2 separate regions of the Homo sapiens genome follow, and region 1 is linked to region 2. The links are contacts of gene promoters, found by promoter capture Hi-C in human tissues and cell types (Jung and others, 2019). All regions are on one chromosome and are shown on one strand. The core of a region is centred on a gene start or on the middle of the fragment in contact, and the rest is flanking DNA. Distances in the headings are between cores, read along the strand shown. Region 1 overlaps EZH1 (enhancer of zeste 1 polycomb repressive complex 2 subunit). Region 2 holds the start of RAMP2 (receptor activity modifying protein 2).

Region 1 (7,083 bases), core at 3,159-5,658, 51 kb after region 2:
TCAGTGCTTTCCCAACCCTCTTGGTATAAAGGTAATCAATTCTATTACCAGGGGCTCAGGACAGCCTAGTTTTGTTAAAAGCTATATTGTAGGAAAGCCTACATGTATGTCAAATGCTGGACCATTCTGAGTGCCTCTAGACAATGTCACTGGAAGATAAACCTTTATTTTGTAGAAATAGATTTAGTTTTCAGAAACAGCTAGGAAGTCTTTGAAAACCAAGTCTGATGAGAAAATATTGATGATCTAGGTGAGTGATAATTATTTCATTTTTTAAAAAAGGGGGTGATAGCTGTAAAATAATGAAACAATATTCTTCTGAGTTTCATACACAGATTTGGGAGGAAGTTTCAAAATTAAGTAGTAAGATTGTACAGATTAAGCATTACACATTTTATTAAGGAAACAGAGAAAGTGTGGTAGACTGGAAAGAATAGTGGCCTAGGGAGACAAGGAGCCCTGATTCCTATACCCCTCTGGAACTATTAGCTGCATACTCTCAAGCTAGTTTCTTCCCCTCTCTGAATCTCATTTCTTCATCCATAGGAGAATGTGTTCTCAAATTCCAAACAAGTAACACGCAAGTTAATTTTAGATACAACTCACTGGAAAATTGAAGACACAGATGCATAGATTATATCTTTTTTAAGATTATAGGACATTAGCTGGGCATGGTGACATGTGCGTGTGGTCCTAGCTACTTGGGAGGCTGAGGCAAGGGAATCACTTGAGCCCAGGAATTCGAGGCTGCAGTGAGCAGGCCTCTGCACTCCATCCTGGGCAAGAGAGAGAGACCCTGTCTCAAAAAAACAAACAAACAAAAAAACATTATAGGACAACTCTTTTGTGAAAAAGTACGTAAGTTTTGTTAAGCAGCTCTCATTGTTATATGATCATACTTATTATATGGTACAGAGAAAAAGAAAAGACACTATTATTGTAGACAGATGTTGTAAAGATGAAAGTTTGTGATGATGAGATCAATATGGTGATGGGCCTGTTCCTATTTCCTGTCTGTAATGTGTCCACTGCAGGAAGGAGCAAAGGAGTATGCCATGCTCCACAACCCCCGCTCCAAGTGCTCTGGTCGTCGCCGGAGAAGGCACCACATAGTCAGTGCTTCCTGCTCCAATGCCTCAGCCTCTGCTGTGGCTGAGACTAAAGAAGGAGACAGTGACAGGGACACAGGCAATGACTGGGCCTCCAGTTCTTCAGGTACGATGAACAGAAAATGAAGACTTTTTCTTTCCATGCAAGGACTCTGGTAAACCCAGGATCACTGCCTGACACTTAACTTTACTACCTCTTAAAAATTATAAATTCTTTCTACAAGTTTTGTAAACAGTAAAGATGGGGAATATTTTCTTTTTTTTTTTTTTTTTTTTTGAAACAGTCTCTCGCTTTTTTGCCCAGGCTGGAGTGCAGTGGTGCTATCTTGGCTCACTGCAACCTCCACCTCCCAGGTTCAAGCGATTCTCCTGCCTCAGCCTCCCAAGTAGCTGGGATTACAGGTGCCTGCCACCACGCCCGGCTAATTTTTATATTTTTAGTAGAGACGGGGTTTCGCCATGTTGGCCAGGCTGGTCTTGAACTTCTGACCTCAGGTGATCCGCCTGCCTCGGCGTCCTAAAGTGCTGGGATTACAGGCGTGAGCCACCCTGCCTGGCTAATTTTTGTATTTTTAGTAGAGACAGGGTTTCGCCATGTTGCCCAGGCTGGTCTTGAACTCCTGAGCTCAAGCAATCCACCCACCTCGGCCTCCCAAAATGCAGGGATTACAGGCGTGAGCCACCATGCCTGGCCTAAAGATAGGGAATATTTTCATTCCTAACTGTTCTACCTTTTAAAGTAGAATGAAGTACTTCTGAGTTTGTGACAAACTACTGATGACAACTGCATTCTACCTTCTTCTGATTCTGTTATTTCTTCCCTTCTCAGAGGCTAACTCTCGCTGTCAGACTCCCACAAAACAGAAGGCTAGTCCAGCCCCACCTCAACTCTGCGTAGTGGAAGCACCCTCGGAGCCTGTGGAATGGACTGGGGCTGAAGAATCTCTTTTTCGAGTCTTCCATGGCACCTACTTCAACAACTTCTGTTCAATAGCCAGGCTTCTGGGGACCAAGACGTGCAAGCAGGTACCATCTGGAAGCAGCAGAACAAATGGGCCCCTCCTTTCACGCATTGCTCTGTCCAGCCCTTTGCCATCTTACCAGGCTGTGTGTCTGGGTCTGGAGAGAAGTTGTCTTAAGTTCAGTCCCTGATGAGCCTGTGCTTCTGTGAGTTTCCCAAACATGGCCCTTCTGCAAGTGCCAGGCCTAATGATGTTTGGGGACCCGCCTCCTCCTTGCTGAATGCTCATTTCTGTCTGGACTCTATTTAATGCTTCTGGGTCCTACACTCTTTCGCTTCTTTTTTTTGGCTCTGGCCTCCTTTCTAAATGTGTACCCCTTTCCCAGAAGGGACTCCCAGGTCTTTCTGTGGCTCTTGTTAATGAGCACACTGCTGCTGCTGCTGCAGCTGCTGCAGCTGCTGCTCCCTCCACCACTCCGCCAGCCTCTTCAGTCATTTTATTCTCCACATTTTCTATCACTAGATTATCTTTATTTTGTCTTTGAGACAGGGTTTCACTGTGTCGCCCAGGCTGGAGTGCAGTGGCATGATCATAGCTCACTGCAACCTCCGCCTCCTGGGCTCAAGCAGTCCTCTCCCCTCAGCCAAGCAAGTAGCAAGGGACTACAGGTGCAGGCCAGTATGCCCAGCTAATTTTTTTTTTTTTTTGAGACAGAATCTCGCTCTGTTGCCCAGGCTGGAGTGGTGCAGTGGCATAATCTTGGTTCACTGCAACCTCCGCCTCCCAAGTTCAAGTGATTCTTCTGCCTCATCCTCCCAAGCAACTGGGATTACAGGTGCCCACCACCACACCCAGCTAATTTTTTTTGTTTTGTTTTTTTGAGATGGAGTCTCGGTCTGTTGCCCAGGCTGGAGTGCAGTGGCATGATCTCAGCTCACTGCAGCCTCCGCCTCCCAGGTTCAAGTGATTCTTCTGCCACAGCCTCCCAAGTAGCTGGGATTACAGGTGTGCACCACCACGCCCGGCTAATTTTGTATTTGTAATAGAGACGGGGTTTCACCATGTTGGCCAGGCTGGTCTCAAACTCCTGACCTCAGGTGATCCACCCGCCTCGGCCTCCCAAAGTGCTGGGATTACAGGCATGAGCCAATGTGCCTGGCCATTTTTGTATTTTTTTTTAGTAGAGATGGGGTTTCACCATGTTGGCCAGGCTGGTCTCAAACTCCTGACCTCAAGTGATTGGCCCAGGAAAAGACAGGAAAAGACCACAGTGAGAAGACAGACTGAAGAACAGGGACAAGGAGGCAGCTGTCAGGGCCAGCATGTCCAACAGGAAAGGAACCCCAATGCTTTGGCTTCCTACCTTCTGGAGGAGACTCTGTGGCCTCTTCTTCATGCTTCCTGTACTGAGAACAATTAATAGAACCATGGACTGGGCAAGGTGGCTCACACCTAGAATTCCAGTGCTTTGGGAAGCCATGGTGGGAGGATCGCTTGAAGCCAGGATTTCAGGACCAGTGTGGGCAACAAAGTGAGACCCCATTTCTACAAAAAAAAAAAAAAAAAAAAAGCCACGTACCTGTAGTCCTAGTACTCAGGAGGCTGAGGTGGGAAGATGGCTTGAGCCCAGGAGTTCTATACTACATTGAGCTATGATGGCACCACTGCACTCCAGCCTGGCCAAGAGTATGAGACCCTCTCTCTTAAAAAAAAAAAAAAAAAACAAACAAAAACAGAACCATGAGCTGAAGTGCCCTTTGCTTTCATTTTGGAGCTCATACCTATTTCCCTGATCACAGGTTCTCAACGTAACCATCTATGGATTTGTATGCAAGAATGTTCTTGTCTGTATTTTCCTGAGAATAGTTACAGTTTTCAAAGATCCCCCACAAAGGGCCAATAGCCCCAACAAAGAAAAGGAAAAACTAAAAACCAGTGCTTTAAGAGAAAAAACACATCCTATTGAAATGGCTGAGGCTCCGGTATCTTTATACTGACAGAGGGAGCTAATATTTAGCCCACTGAAACCATTCCTGTCCTGTCCTGTCCTGCCTTACACTCAGTTACACAAGGCACAGCGTTGCCCTTCCTAAAAAGAAGAAGATACTGTTGGTCACAGTCAGCCCACTCTTCTACCCGTGGCTTGGTAGAAAGAGTAGTAGGTGACAGCTTCTGACCAGGGGCGGTATTACTGTGCTCAGTATTTCTCCTTTCCTGAGTCAGGATAAATAATTAGGAATGAACTTCAGAGCCAGTAACCCAATGTTCCAGTGGCACTCTGTCTCTCCCTGACTGATGAGAGGCTTGGTCAGCTGCCTGAGTTTCTCAGAACCCTCCCAAGGCCAGCACCCAGCTGGGCCACTTACCTGACCCCCTTGCTCGAGGAGTGACAGGCCCGTTGGATTTCTCTTCCAGGTCTTTCAGTTTGCAGTCAAAGAATCACTTATCCTGAAGCTGCCAACAGATGAGCTCATGAACCCCTCACAGAAGAAGAAAAGAAAGCACAGGCAAGAAGGGTTGGACAAAGTGTTTTGTTTTACAGCCAGGCTGTTCCCTGTGCTCTGACCTCCCCTTGGAGTTCCCATCTGCCTCCCTCTTTAGCAACCGCACAGGCTGTGTGAGCCCATCAGCTTGGCATCACATGACTGAGAGCCAGCCTCCTGAGTGCTCCCTGAGGGTCTGTGCCTTAGATCAGCCCTCTTCTTGTCCCCCAGTGCTGTGGACCATAACTGTCTGTTTTTCTATTTAAGCTTCTGGCCAATAGGACATGAGCTGGCCTCATGGCTCCACCCTGAAGCCATTTCTCCTTGTTGGTTTTGTTACCACCTTACCCATTTCTCAACTCTGATCAGAGTTTATTTATTTGTTTGGTTTGTGTTGTTTTTCTGAGTTACATGATAGCCTTTACTTAGGTTGGAAGTTTTTAAAAAAATTCTGCACCCTGGCCCTGTTCCCTAGTGACTATCACCTATCAGAGGAAGGAGCTGACACCACTTCTAGATACAGAAGGAAATCCCTGTGGCTCCTCCCTTTCAGTTCTTTCAGAGAAGATTCCTGAAAGGCCTTCCCACCTCCCCATCTTGAAACTCCCCCATATCTCCACCTCCACAAAGACAAAGGGAGAGATTTGGAGAGAAACAATAGCTTTATAATAGACCAATAGGCTTGGGCTTTCTTTTATTTCTGTGTTGTGTTCTTTTATGTTATTTGCTTGTTTGGGAGGGGTTGTGTTTAAGTTTAACTCTTGTAGCACAGGCCAGCTGGATTTAGGATGGACTCTAGCTTCTGTGTACCAAAGTCGTCCTGTTGAGGGGTTTGGGAAGATACTCCCCAGTCATCAAACACAGTCCCTCAGAGCAAGTCACGTTGTCATTTACCTGCATTTGCAGAGCTCCCTAGGGCCGTGACTGAGACCTGTCCTTCCTGTCTTTTTCAGATTGTGGGCTGCACACTGCAGGAAGATTCAGCTGAAGAAAGGTAAGTTCTACCAGGGCATTCTTCAGCAGTTCAGCTGGAGGCCTCACTCTGTGGTCATCACCCTACCCCACCTCCAGCTGCACTTGTTGACCCTGTGCCACTTCCGCAGATTGCAGAATTCTCTGCAGCAACTGAGAACAGCTGAGCCTCTCACTGCAACTGAGAAGACCTCTTAGGAGGTAACATTAAGGGCCTTGTGGTCTGTGATTTTTCTTTTTTTTGAGATGGAGCCTCGCTCTGTCACCCAGGCTGGAGTGCAGTGGCACAATCTTGGCTCACTGCAACCTCCGCCTCCCGGGTTCAAGCAATTCTCCTGCCTCAGCTTCCCAAGTAGCTGGGATTACAGGCATGTACCACCATGCCTGGCTAATTTTTGTATTTTTAGTAGAGACGGGGTTTCACCATGTTGGCCAGGCTGGTCTCGAACTCCTGACCTCAAATGATCCACCTGCCTCGGCCTCGCAAAGTGCTGGGATTACAGGCGTGAGCCACTGTGCCTGGCCAGTATGTGACTTTTCTAGTGTGCCATTTGCTAGGTTCCAGACCTCATTTAATGTTTAGAATAGCTTCCCTGTTGTCCCAGACCATCTCCACACCCTCCCCACAAAGCAGATCACCCCACTGCAGCTTATGAACAACGGTCATCCCTGTCTTCTCACTTCAGGTGCTAAATGTGTGTCCAAGGAGATTGTTAGGACCAGCCTCCTCTGAATCAGGGCAGCTGGACACTTGGGAGGGAAGACAGCTGGAGAGTATGGTCACAGCAGCATCCTCCTCTGTTTTCTTTCCTAGATAACTCTTCCACACAAGTGTACAACTACCAACCCTGCGACCACCCAGACCGCCCCTGTGACAGCACCTGCCCCTGCATCATGACTCAGAATTTCTGTGAGAAGTTCTGCCAGTGCAACCCAGACTGTAAGTGTGCTACGTTTTCTGTATAGTCTACCAAAACAGTTGGCTCCAGTGTGCCCTAGGCTTGCCCCATTCCTGTGCCCTTTACTGCTTATGGCCTTCTGATATCCCCTTTGCTGTGTTTTAGGGATTCTACAAATGAAATAAGTGCATGAGATCTGGGAGAGTCGTTTCTGGAAAACGTTTAGGTTCATGATTCTAAAAGCAGCAATTACACAGAAATCAGATACTTTCCCAACTTTGTCTTCTAGGGGAGAATTAAGAAATGTGGGGGGCAGCAGGCGCAGTCACTCACGCCTGTAATCCCAGCACTTTGGGTAGGCGGATCACTTGAGGTCAGGAGTTCAAGACCAGCGTGGCCAACTTGGCGAAACCTCATCTCTACTAAAAATAAAAAAATTAGGCCAGGTGTGGTGGCTCACGCCTATAATCCCAGCACTTGGAAGGCCAAGTCGGGCAGATCACTTAAGGTCAGGACTCAAGACCAGCCTGGCCAACATGGTGAACCCCGTCTCTACTAAGAATACAAAAATTAGCCAGACATGGTGGTACATGCTTGTAGTCCCAGCTACTTGGGAGGCTGAGGCACAAGAACTGCTTGAACCCAGAGGGCAGAGGCT
Region 2 (6,718 bases), core at 1,670-4,169:
TCATGAGGTCAGGAGATCGAGATCATCCTGGATAACACAGTGAAACCCTGTCTCTACCAAAAATACAAAAAATTAGCCGGGCGTGGTGGCGAGCACCTGTAGTCCCAACTACTCTGGAGGCTGAGGCAGGAGAATGGCATGAACCAGGAGGCAGAGTTTGCAGTTAGCCGAGAGCATGCCACTGCCCTCCAGCCTGGGTGACGGAGCAAGACTCCATCTCAAAAAAAAAAAAAAAAAAAAAAAATTAGCTGGGCATGGTGGCTCACGCCTGTGGTCCCAGCTACTTGGAAGTCTGAGATGGGAGGATCCTTGAGCCCAGGAGGTCGAGGCTGCAGTGAGCCATGTTTGTGCCACTGAACTCCAGCCTGGGTGACAGAATGAGACCTTGTTTCAACAAACAAACAAACAAACAAACAAACAAGGAACTAGTGATTGCTGTAGAGATGGCAGTTTTCTGACCCCAGGGTCCAGTGCTCCTCAGCCTTGAGCTTCTTCCAGATCAGATACGTCTTCTGGTTGCTGGCTTTAGTGGACACCAGGGGGCAGTGTGTTGCTAGGCTGCAGGCCACACCCAGTCCAGGACAATGTAGGATGAGGGCAAGGGACATGGAGAGGGGTGGTGAACCTAGTAAAGGAAGCCCCCACTGCTTTCTCCCTCAATTGTGAGGGCCTTAGGAATGGATTCCTGTTGCTCAGTCAGGGTTCCTCTTCCCAGGCCCTGTGAGTAAACTGAAGCATGAAGAAGAGGAATAGTCAGGGCTCCTGGGCAGCCTCCTGCTCCTCTTGCAGGAGTCACAAGCAGAGATTCCTCCCTTGCCCCTTCCCCCACACCTCCCCAGTTGCAGGCCCCCAGCTGCTGTCCAGACCGGAAGGGAGTCTCTTCCTGCTTGTTTCCTGGAGCCGAGTTTGGATATAGGCAGGAAAGGCCCGCCTGGGAGGAAAGAATATAGGGGTGTGACCTTCATGGAGGCAGGGAGCAGGGGGGCAGGTGAAATGAACAGAACAATGGGCCATCCAGATTTTTCCAGTTCTACTACCCAGGGCTGAGGGCCTGTGGCAGTGGCAGGGAAGGACACAGGTTCCACTGAAATGGGGAGAAGGACATTGTACAAAAAAAAAGTTTTATTTTGAAGATTACAGAACTTGTGCCATGACCCCACCTGGCTTCCATTCCCAGCAATCCAGGGATCTGTGGTGGGGATGAGAGTGAGAAAAGGGAGTAGGAGGGGAGGAGGGAGGCCTGGTGGGGGTGGGGAAGTGGAGTAACATGGTTGTTGAGAAGCTCGTGGCCCCCTAGGCCTGGGCCTCACTGTCTTTACTCCTCCATACTACAAGAGTGATGAGGAAGGGGATGAGGCAGATGGGGGCTATGATCATGGCCAGGAGTACATCCTCTGGGGGGTCAGAGAAGGTGGGCTGCACCAGGGAGCAGTTGGCAAAGTGGATCTGGTGAGTCTCAAAGATGATCCTCTCTGCCAAGGGATTGGGGAAGCCCAGGTCAAACAACTCTGCAAAGTGCTCCAGGCAATCTCGCAGGGTGCTATAAGGCCTAGGGGCAGAAGAGGACTTGAGTGAGAGAGGGGGTGGACCCAGGGAGAAGAGTGCCCCACTCTCACTCAGGGTCTACCTGCAATGAGCAGGTCCACCCCCTGGCCTGAGCCACCCTCCATCACTGCCCCTACCTGCTAATCATGGCCCAGTCGCACCAATCCTTTTCGATAGGATCCATTTGATCCTTATAATGATTCCAGCAAAATTGGACAGCTGTCTCATAGTTCTTCACCGTCCCCCCTGTAGGTACAGATGCTACACAATGACCACACCCCTACCCCTCCCTACAAACCCTCCTGCCCAGGTGCTTGCAAGGTGAACTGCCTGTCTTCAAACGTGGGAACCCTTCAGAAAGTTTCCCTAGCAAAACATTCTGGCTGAGGACAGAGTCCCAGCTCAGGAATCCTATAATGACTTCCATGTGCTAAGCACTTTCCATCCCAGCCTGATAAGAACTTCCACGTACACCTTTTCCTGGGGTCTTCTCGCCCACTTGTGAGGTGGGCAGCTCAGAGCCGTGCAGGGGCTTTGTAGGAGGACAGGGAGAAAGACCACGAGGAACCCCAAGAAAGAACAGAGGGGAGTGTAGTGGGGCATCAGCTGGGGTTGGGCAGGCCTCGTGGGAAAGGAACCCTCCCCACTGAACTTGCTCTCGTCCTTACCCTCGGCCACCCTTCCACACCCTGGGTACCCACCTTCTGACCCTGGTGTGCCTGTGGTGGGAAGAGGCTGAGCCAGGGCCTCGTGGGGATTCAGGACAGCTGTGGGAAGAAACGGGAGAGGAGGGTAACATAGCGGGGACCCCGGCAGTGGAGCCTGCGAGGGGGGTTGGGGGACTGAGACCCTCCGAAAATAGGCTACCTTGGAAGAAAAGGAGGAATAATCTAGCCCCCACGGACGCCTCAGTGCCGGGGAGGGAGGGGCTGGCACCAGCTCCTTGTCACTCACACCCAGGCCCAAAGCCCCCTCATCTCTGGCCAGCTTCCGTCCTCCTAAGCCCTCTTCGAGGGGCCGGGGCCAGCACCCCAGCTTTCCCTGGGTGGGAAGCAGCTCATGCTGCGCCCGCCCCGAGGTGGGGTCAGGGACCGTCCGAGGGCCAGTGCTGCTAGGTACGTCGGTCCTAACCCGCACCCCAGGGCCCGTTCCGGCCTCGGCCATCCAGCCCCTCTCCCCTCTCCCCTCTCCCCTCCGGGGCCTCTCGCGCCTCCCGCCCGGGCCTCGGGGCGCCGCGCTCACCGCCCAGCAGGAGGAGGAGGCGGAGCGCTGCCGGCCGCCCGACTCGGGTCCTAGGGAGACGCGGGCCGCCGGCGCGCTCCACCCGGAGCGAGGCCATCGTGCAGCAAGGAGGCGAGGAGCGGCGGCGGCGCTGAGCCGGGCCCGGGTGTGGGGGCGCCTATATCCCCAGCCCAAGCTGCAGGAAGCCGCGCCGCTTCCTCGGAGGGGCTGGGACGGCGGCGGCCACGTGGGGGGCGGGGGCGACGCTCGGGGCCCGCGGCTGGAGGGGGAGTCGCTGCCTCACCCGCGCCTGGCGCCCGCGGCTCCCTCCGCCTCGCCGGCGTTGGCCCACCCTCTCGTAGCTCACCCCGCGAGGCTGGACAGCTCCCGGAACCCCGGAACCGGGATCTATTTCGGGGGCTCGGCTGCGTGGCGCCCAGGACTCTCCAGGGTCTCCCAGGATCGCTCCCCGAATTCGAGTCGCCCCCTCTCTCTTTCGGGTCTGGAGGGGTCGGCAAGCTGCTCTCCCAGACGTGGAGAAGAGGGAGGGGGCTGGGAGCTCCAGCGGCCTCTCGACGCCGCTGCTTCTAAGGGGCTGTCCTGGGTTGTGGGGGAAGGGGCGCCTGGAGCTGAGCCATGCAGCTCAGGGTTCCTTATCCTATCCCTAGGAATACCAGCTGATGTCAGTCCGCCAGCCAAAACCAGGGAGGAGAAGCGGGAGCCAGCCCTCTGGAGTCGGGAGAAGGTCTGGGGAGTGGGGTAGAGGGGAAAGCAAAGTCCAAATACCTTCCCTTCAGACACCTCCTGGGGCCTAGACCCCACAAACCTGTTGTGGGGAGGGCAAAATACGATGACTACGTTCCCAGGAAGAAGGTGCCACAGCTCTTCAGGACCACGGTTGGGAGAAAGAATGGAGGGGTTTTAGAACCTTCAGTGTGCGACTTCATGTGCCAGGTGAGTGTAACACCATTTTACAGACCGAGAAGCTAAAGCTCAGGGCCAACAGCCCGGGATTTGAATTCAGAAGCTCTGGGTTCTAATTCTGTCTTCTTACTCCCCAGCTATAGAGCCTTGAATGACACGTTTACCTTCAGGACTTCTCATGTGAAATAGGGACATTCCCCTCCTCACTGTATGATGGCAGCTGTGAAAGGGCACTGCACTCGCTAAATGCTAGTTTCCTTTCCTCTTTTCCTAAGTGACTTATCTAAGGTCACACTGTTAAGGAAGCAGCAAGGCTGAGTCTGGGCCTCCGGGGGTCCTGACTTCAGCCACACCACAGCTGCTTCTTGTGTCCTGGGCCAGAGGTTCATTAGTCTGAAGCAGCTGAGGAGCCCAGGAGCTGGTTTGGCCATGACGTTCAAGTCCCAGACACAGCTGTCAGCACCAAACTTTCCTAAATTACTCCCAGACACTGACCCTTGGACTCAGCTGCTGCTGTTGTCCCAGTTTACTGATTCCTGCCCACCACAAATTATCTGTCCTGATCTCTCCTGAAGTCTTCATCTCAGGATCTCAAGCTCTTGGATCATGGGCACGGATAACCTGTTGTCCTCCTCTATGGTCAAGAGGCTGCTTTTGCAAAGAATCCAGTGGGAGAGAGTCAATGGCCTGCTTGACGTGAACTCCAAAGTCCTCCTGGTAAGGATCATTTCTACAATGATGCAGAAAAGAGCCATGCAGTCTCTGAGACATTTCAGGCTGGGACCAAATCTAGTCCTTCCTGCCTGCCTAGGATTGCTCCTTTCAAGAAGGAAGCATGGGAGATTTCTGAGTGATAAGATGGGAGGAAGGAGCAAGGAGGTGCAGAAAGCAAAACAAGCCATTTTCACTGGGTTGGGGCCAGAAGCACATGAGCCCACTATGGGTTAGGACTGGGGTTGGGGTCAAGATTAAAGGGGACAAAAGCAAATGTTAGATTTAAAATAGAGCCTGGGCAACATAGTGAAACCCTGTCTCTACAAAAAAAAAACTATAAAAAAATTTTTAAAAAATTAGCCTGGCATAGTGGTGTGCACCTGTAGTCCCAGCTACTCGGGAGGCTGAGGCAGGAGGATCACTTGAGCCCCAGAGGTTGAGGCTGCAGAGAGCTGTGATTGTGCCCTATCTCAAAAAAAAAAAAAAAGGACAATATGGCATAATGATAATGGATAATCATAACGGATGAAAGAAAAAAACTGATGAGGATTCTGAAGGTAGGTTCTGCCTCTGTCTTACTGCAAGTAACTTGAGCAGGTTATTTCACATCTCTGGAGCTCAAGATTTTCATATGTAAAATGGCCTTAAGATCAAAAAAGAAAATATAGGTAACTTGGTAGGAAGTTCCTATTTTATTTTTATCTTACTTTACTTTTTAGGAACAGGGGCTCACTCTGTTGCCCACATTGGAGTGCGGTGGAAGAATCATGGCATGCTGCAGTCTTGAGCTTCTAGGCTCAAGAGATCCTCCTGGTTCAGTCTCCCAAGTAGCTAGGACAGCAGGCATATTTTTTGTAGATATGGGGGTCTTGCTTTTTTGCCGAGGCTGGTCTCGAACTCCTGGCTTCAAGCAATCTTCCTGCATCAGTCTCTTAAAGTGTTGGGATTCCAGGCATGAACCACTGCACCTGGCCCTTGGGAAGTTTTATTTTTAGCCTAGGGTTGGGGTTAAGTTTGCATCATGATGTTGAGACCTCCAAAGGAGAACTTATTGTAGTCATTCCTGAGCTCAGGTGTCCAAACTGTCTAATTGGAGAATCTGGGAATTTTCTCTCGTTTTGATTTTCCTCTTCCACTTTTCCATGCCAGTTGGATGTTTGAATGTTTTTATCGACCTCTGAGAGCATCCGGGTAACTGAGGGTTTACTTTGGGGGTCTTTGGAGATGAATAGGGACAGGAGACCTCACCTTTCTTTTCCATGTAGCCATAGGAGATAGTCCCACGATCTGATGATCTGTAGCAATGGGTAGAGGAAGGGCCGTATTAGGAACAGAAGCTAGTTTCGTCATGGGAAGTCCCCTGTTTTCCACTCCTGAGGGCCCTCACATTCCCTTTCTAAGCCCCTTTCTGCTTTTGCTATTAAAAAATACAGTTTTTAAATTGCAAGTAATATGTAAGTATATACTTGTTGCAAAATATTTAACCCAGAAAACTTTGTATCCCCACTCATATCTCATTTCCCACATATTCTGGATTTTTTTAAAGGAAAGCATAAATGGGATTTGATACTCCTATTATTCAGTGACTTTTTTTTTTCTTGAGATGGAGTCTTGCTCTGTTGCCCAGGCTGGAGTGCAGTGGCGCCATCTTGGCTCACTGCAACCTCCGCTTCCCAGGTTCAGGTGATTCTACTGCCTCAGCCTCCTGAGCAGCTGGGATTACATGTGTACGCCGCCACATCCAGCTAATTTTTGTATTTTAGTAGAGACAGGGTTTCACCAGGTTGGCCAGGCTTGTCTTGAACTCCTGACCTCAAGGGATCCACCTGCCTTGGCCTCCCAAAATGCTGGGATTACAGGTGTGAGCCACTGTGCCTGGCCTCAGTGTCTTTTAAAAAATGTGATACTATTGCTGGGTATGCAGCTCATGCCTGTAATCCCAGTTACTCGGGAGCCTGAAGCAGGAACTTGAGCCCAGGAATTGGAGACTAACCTGGGTGATATAGCGAGACTCTGTCTAAAATAATAATAATGATAATAAAGAAGCCAGGCACAGTGCCTCACACCTGTAAACCCAACACTTTGGAAGACCAAGGCAGGAGGATCACTTGAAGTCAGGAGTTCAAGACCAGCCTGGGCAACATGGCAAGACCCTGTCTCTACAAAAAATAAAAATAAATTAGCCAGGCTTGGTGGCACATGCCTGTAGTCCCAGCTCCACAGCAGGCTGAGACAGGAGGATCCCTTGAGCCCAGAATTTTAAGGCTGCAGTGAGCCATGATCATGCCACTGCATTCCAGCATGGGCTACAGAG

Evidence for each region. Contacts are between HindIII fragments. The study calls those that stand out against the background at their distance.
Region 1: a fragment that was not itself captured here is called in contact with the fragment with the promoter of RAMP2 in region 2 in 1 of the 25 tissues and cell types used here (liver).

What each region holds. Positions count from the first base shown.
Region 1 is chr17:42,707,341-42,714,423 of GRCh38, reverse strand. It overlaps EZH1 (enhancer of zeste 1 polycomb repressive complex 2 subunit), which reads left to right. Exons shown (of 21, transcript NM_001991.5): 11 at 1,035-1,215; 12 at 1,939-2,135; 13 at 4,487-4,578; 14 at 5,508-5,548; 15 at 6,341-6,466. MIR6780A (microRNA 6780a) reads left to right here and starts at 6,273; the gene lies at 6,273-6,340. It also overlaps the pseudogene RPL34P30. The HindIII fragment of the contact is 8,591 bases long and covers 113-7,083 here.
Region 2 is chr17:42,757,428-42,764,145 of GRCh38, reverse strand. It overlaps RAMP2 (receptor activity modifying protein 2), which reads right to left and starts at 2,919. Exons shown (of 4, transcript NM_005854.3): 1 at 2,788-2,919; 2 at 2,247-2,312; 3 at 1,683-1,791; 4 at 1,105-1,549. The coding sequence starts at 2,884. The coding sequence ends at 1,294. It overlaps RAMP2-AS1 (RAMP2 antisense RNA 1), which reads left to right and starts at 2,889. Exons shown (of 6, transcript NR_024462.1): 1 at 2,889-3,266; 2 at 3,435-3,511; 3 at 3,633-3,720; 4 at 4,266-4,407. RefSeq lists a silencer at 2,716-2,805. The HindIII fragment of the contact is 24,962 bases long and covers 1-6,718 here.